Regions from separate parts of the Homo sapiens genome. Here region 2 is linked to region 1. The links are contacts of gene promoters, found by promoter capture Hi-C in human tissues and cell types (Jung and others, 2019). All regions are on one chromosome and are shown on one strand. The core of a region is centred on a gene start or on the middle of the fragment in contact, and the rest is flanking DNA. Distances in the headings are between cores, read along the strand shown.

The links. Contacts are between HindIII fragments. The study calls those that stand out against the background at their distance.
Region 2: a fragment that was not itself captured here is called in contact with the fragment with the promoter of WIPF3 in region 1 in 2 of the 25 tissues and cell types used here (adrenal gland and dorsolateral prefrontal cortex).

Annotation. Positions count from the first base shown.
Region 1 is chr7:29,804,746-29,807,914 of GRCh38, forward strand. WIPF3 (WAS/WASL interacting protein family member 3) reads left to right here and starts at 1,763. Exons shown (of 9, transcript NM_001080529.3): 1 at 1,763-1,933. RefSeq lists an enhancer at 1,499-2,408. The HindIII fragment of the contact is 12,406 bases long and covers 244-3,169 here.
Region 2 is chr7:30,064,087-30,066,868 of GRCh38, forward strand. All of the region lies in intron 12 of PLEKHA8 (pleckstrin homology domain containing A8), which reads left to right. Among named protein-coding and RNA genes, the nearest start is that of PLEKHA8, 37 kb to the left of the region's middle. The HindIII fragment of the contact is 3,555 bases long and covers 1-2,782 here.

The DNA.
Region 1 (3,169 bases), core at 513-3,012:
TTGGGGTTTTGGGTTTTGTTTTTGTTTTAGTAACAATCACCCATGTAAGAGGGCTTATGAATTTTATGTTGGAGAACTGTTCTTCAGGTTCCATACCTGTGGTCATCTATTATGATTCTAAAGGAGGAAAGGGCAAGAGGAACTCAGGACAAACAGGTGGAAAGCAAGTGCCTCATCAGCTTCCACTCACTACACATAGACCTTTCGTCACCTAAATCAAAAGAGAAAACCATGTTCTTGACGACACTGGAGTGAAAGACATCAAAAGTGTATTATTAATCCTTGCTTTCGACACATTGCCCAGCTACAAACATGAGTAATTAAGAGATCAGCTAAGGGCTGCTTGGGGAACATACTTTGACAGCAGCCACTACAGAACTTGAACCTGAATACAGGCTGCAATCCACGTGTGAGATCTTCCCTGCTGGCATTGGCTGCTCCCTCACCTGGGTCCCCAACATTTCACACAAGCCTCAGCACAGCGCTGAGCGCCAGGTTTCTCCTCTATTCCAGACCAGCAGCAACTTTAGAGTTAGACACCTTGCCCTGAGGCCCTGCAGAGTGTCTGGCTCATGGCAGATACTCAAACACCGAGGCTGAGTGAACAGTCCACGAGTACCCGCTTAGCTCCTCCACTAGCAGGAATGCCCAGGACATGGGCAATACAGAATCCTCACCCAATGATCTCAGCACCTACAGCAATGCATTCAGCCTCGGACACAAACTTTCTGCATCCTCCAAGGGCCTGAACAAGAAATGTGACAGAAGCAAGGTTTTCCGTTCTTCAAGCTTATTTCAGGTTTGTTTTTGTTTGTTTCTTTGTTTGGTTTGGTTTGGTTTTTTGAGACAGGGTCTCACTCTATCGCCCAGGCTGGAGTGCAGTGGTTCATTGCAACTTTTGCCTCCTGGGTTCAAGAGATCCTTCCACCTCAGCCTCCCGAGTAGCTAGGACTAGAGAGCGCCACCACACCCGGCTAACTTTTGTATTTTTTGGTAGAGACAGGGCTTCACCATGTTGGCCAGGCTAGTAACTCCTGACCTCAAGTGATCCGTCCACCTCGGCCTCCCAAAGTCCTTGGATTCCAGGCTTGAGCCACCGCGCCCGGCCCTATTTCAGTTTTCAGTCTGCTTTCTCCTCCCTTCGACTCTACCTGGGACATCAATCTACCTCCCCAGGCTACCCGGATAATTCTCTCATCACCTGGCTAATTCACACTCAGTCTTCAGTTTTTCTCGTCGACGTCAGCTCCTCAAGAAGCCCTCCCTGACCTACTCCCCACCCCAAGTTTAGATCAGGTGCTCCCTCTGGGAGCCGGCTCAGGAGGCCTCTGCCTCCTCTTGGTTGTGCTGTAATCGCCCATTGGTCGCTTTCCTTTTCTAGACTGTGAACTCCACGAGGGCAAGAGGTAATCTTGTTCTCTCGTCCCCATCGCTTATGACACCGCCTGGAGCTTAGTAAGGGCTCAACATTTTGGAATAAATTCAAGGAGTGGCGTGTCCCCAGAGTAGCTGTGCTGGGCCGTGTGCCGCCCGCGCAACAGCTCCTATTTGGGGAATTCCAGCCTTAGGCCTCAGTCTCTCCGCAGCTGAGACTTGGGACTCTGTACCCGGGAGGCGCGCCCGCCGACTTGGGACCCGCCTCCAGGGTCCCAGAGCGACCCCGCCCGCCGGGGCCGTGTCCCTGCCGCGGGGCGGCGGCGGCTCCCAGGCAGGAGCCTGCGAGCAGGTGGGGGCGGCGGCCCCGCCTCCGCGTCCCGGCAGCACCAGAGCCGGTGGCCGGGGAGCGAGCCGGGCGCACCGAGCGCAGCTCGGCGGTAGCGGCGCCGCTTGGAGCACGGGCGCTGCGGGACGGAGCCCGGAGCCGGAGGCGGCGGCGGCGGAGACGTCGGCCGGAGCTCGAGTCCAGTCCAGCCCCCGGCTCCGCCACCTGCAGGTAGCGGCTTCCCGCGCGGGTGCGGGTCGGTGCCCGAGGGTGGAAGGAACGGGCGGTGTGGCGGCCGCCGCCCTGGTCGGTCCCGGAGCAGAGTGGCCCGGCCCGGGACAGAGATCCTGAGGGCGTGGGAGGGCCGGGGAACCCCCGCCGGGCTGCAGCCCCGGGCCCAGGAGGTTGTCGACGTGCCGCGCGGCGCTCACGCCCCCCACCCGCACCCTGCCACGCCGCCCCGGCCGGGCCGGGCCGGGCCGGGCGGAAACAAACCGCGGGGTGGGGAGCGAGGTCACCACGGGGTTGCTTGGTGACTTCTCCGGACTGGACTCCCCGGTGAGCAGCCCCTGGCACCGAGGCCGCCTCGGCCTGGTCCTTCGCGACGCTCTCTCTTCTCCGCTTCGCCCCCGGAACAAAAGGCTGGGGTCTCGCTGGGGAGGGGGCTGTCGCGGGAAGGGCTGGGGCGGAGTAAAAGAGAGCTAGGAAATTGCAGAGCCGGAGGTGGCTTGGGGAATACAGAAGGAGCCCCCTAGTGAGGAAGCCAACTCCAGAGATGTGAAGTGACTTGTCCAAGGTCACACAGCTCATGGGGACAGAGCGCAGGTCTCTGGACACCCCTCCCGTGCTCATCTCCAAGCCCCTGGGGTCAGTAGTCAGACTGTGCTCCAGCAATGTACATTTGGCCACAAATGGGTTTAGGGTCCTTTGGAGGATTAGGTGGTGGGTAGGTAGGTGGCAGAGCAGATTTCCCCCAGCCCCTGACACGCACTCTCTGAAGGTGGCGGGGAGGGCGGGCACCCGGCCGCCCTGGACCTGGAGGAGCGCCGCCCGGGCCCCGTGGGCAGGCAGGCACCGGCTCTCAGGAACAGCGCCTTTGGAGGGTGGCGTGCCAGCCGCGTGGGTGTGCCCGTGGCGGGCGCCGGGGCGGCGTGGGGACCGTGTGTGCGCCTCCCTCTGGAAAGAAGTTTCTGCAGGGAAAGGCCAGGAGAGCGGTTCCATGCGCCCTGGGACAGTGTGGCCAATCCCTGACACTCAGGGCGCTTTGTAACTGGCTGTATTGGGGAGGAAAGTTACTCTGTAGCAGGAAGTTAGGCTGTCTCTTCGCCTCTGTGCCTGGGGTCCTTGGCTGTAAATGAGGGCCTTGTTTGGCATGACCAGTGTGATTTAGAAGGTTTGTGCCCCTCCGCCTCCTCCTTTCCAGAATCTTTTCTCACTTCACAGGGAGGACTGGGAGTGCACTTCTTG
Region 2 (2,782 bases), core at 10-2,509, 260 kb after region 1:
CTCTCTGGATTCTGCCACTTATTAGTGCTCTGCCCTTAGGCAAGTTATTTAACCTCTCTGATCCTCACTTTGTTCATCTATAAAATGGGAATGGTGATATTATTTCCCTAACAAGGTGGTTGTAAATATTAAGTAGGTGCATGTGCATGTGAAAAAATTACAGAAGTATTTGGTACGCAAAACACTCAGTGTGGCCGGGTGTGGTGGCTCATGCCTGTACTTTCGGAGACTGAGGCAGGAGGATCACTTGAGTTCAGGAGTTTGAGACCAGCCTATGCAACACGGCAAAACTCCATCTCTACAAAAATTAGCTGAGTATGGTGTTGCGTGCCTGTAGTCCCAGCTACTTAGGGGGCTGAGGTGGGAAGATTGCTTGAACCCAGGAGGTCAAGGCTGCAGTGAATTGTGATCATGGCACTGTACTCCAGTCTGGGCAATCGAGTGAGACCAGACCCTGTCTCAAAAACAAACAAACAAACAAAAAAACAATGCTCAGTCGTCAAGATTAGCATCTATTGTTGTGATAATGATGTTTTGTCATCATTATCATAATCATGATATATGAAGTTAATAACCTGCCAGAAAATAAGACTTATTTGTCCCACATCAGTAATGGAAAGTTTACAAAGCTTAGGTGCCAAGCCAGAAACTTCACTTCAAACTAACTTATTAGTATGGAATTTTCATGCTAGCAGAAAGACTTCTCCACCTGTTGGAAATGCAGAAGATACAGGGTTTAGCACTGTGTGCCCAGTGGACTCCGCTTGTCTCATGCTGCTATTACTTTGTTAGGGCTGTCTATGGAAGGGGAGTAGGACAATGCTGATCCCATTTAGCCCACTGGAAGAGCTGGGGTGGAACGGAACCCAGCTGCTTATGGGCTTTGACCCCCCTAGACATAGAAAGGAAACAGGATATACCATTTCTATCCAGTCCCAACCCCAATTCTGCCCACTTTTCTCTCTCCTTTTCTCCTCAAGGTTTCTCATCAAATGTTGTACTTGATTTGGAGACTGGGCCCAGGGGATGTATTGACTTTGTGAAGAAAGAGGAGACTTTGAAGGGCAAATGCTGCTTTGTGACTGCAATAATCACAGCCAGTCTCAGCTTTTTCTTCCCTCTCTTCTCCTTCGGCACAATTTTCAATGGAAAAGAGAAGGGAGGCTGTAAATTTGACATTTTTGTCCTGATGTTCAGGCTTATTTCAAAGAAGGTGTTTATGATTTAAATCCTATCTTTGTGGAAATCCCTAGTTTCTTGCTGCTGCTTAGTATGAGGAGATAAAGTTCCCCTATTAAACCCACCCTCCCTCCAAAGTTCCCCTGTTAAACCCACCCTCCCCTCCCACAGACACAGACACAACAAGCTCTGCGTAAACGGTTTTTTGAGAAATGTTTACACAATAGTTACTCAGAACCTGTAGGCTCCTTGATGCATATTTCTTCTGGGATAATGGTTCCTTTTTCTCATTTTGAAGTCCCAGCCTTCATAAGTAGAACTGATACCTTGTTTGAAATGAGGGAGGGTGAGTGAGTAGGTAAAAGAGAGTGTGTGCAATTTATATGCCATATATAGGCAAGTTTGTTGGCTTTTTTAAATTCTAAAGTTGAATTTAAAAACAGCTATCACTTACAGAGCACCCAGTGTAACTACTACACTAAGTTTTTGATAAATATTTTATTTAATCTTCCAAATACTCTCCAGTGAATAAACTGAGGTTTAAAGAGGATAAATACCTTCCCTAGGGTCTCAAAATCTCCATCGGTGGTTCTCAAGCTGTTCCAAGGTCAGCAGCATCTTTATCACCTGAAAACTCATTAGAAATGCAGACTATCCGGTTCCACCCCAGACCTGCTGAATCAGACACTGAGGCTGGGGCCTGGCAGTCCGTGTTTTAACAAGTCTTTCAGATGATTCTAATCCATGCTGAAGTTTGAGACCTAGTCATCTAGACTTAGGCCTTTGAGGTTCACCTGTCACTTGTCTACATCTTGATAATTTTGTGATTTTGACTGCATCTAAGAGATTTTTAATAAGCAGGAGTAAAACTGCTGAAATTAGTTATAGCATCAGTTTATTTTCCTCCTTTTCATCATAATTAGACAGCTTTCCAATAAAAATACTGCTTAAGTAAGGTTTGAGGTGAATGTTCATGAAACTTGTATGGTCTTAATGGCCTTGGAAATAGTACATTTATATGTAGAAGTCCTAAATAACATTGTAGAAGCCTTGTCTCCTTTACCTTTCTGGAAAATGCATCTCTAGTTATTGTATTGCTGCAGTTCTGTGACCTGGAATACTTCCAGCATCTGGAAGGAGCCTTAGACTTTACACTGCCCCTTTTTGCACTTGAGCCATCACTTGGCTTCCCCATAATGATAATCAGAGTGGAACATTTTGGGTGGTTTCATGCTAAGAGCTGCTGTGTTCCCTTAGTGTCCTAACATTCTTTAGAGGTCATTTTCAGGAGGGAGTTGGGTTCACAAGGCAGATATGTTTAATAATCTGCTTTAGAGCTGAGTCCCCCTCTCCATTGCATATTCCACATCAGAAAGAGGTTTTGGAAAGCATCCTTGCAAGTGGAAGGAAGAAAAGTTGCTCTGGCATTTCATGCACCATTGTATTAAATGTTATATGCTCTGTGCTCAGTGGGATAACATATTGCCACATATCTCATCTCAGAATGATCCCATAAATGTCAGTAAAAGTTAACCCAACCAAGATCCTTTTCTGGCACAGAATAGAAAAAATTTTAAAAGGATGCTCAGTCATGTATTTAATA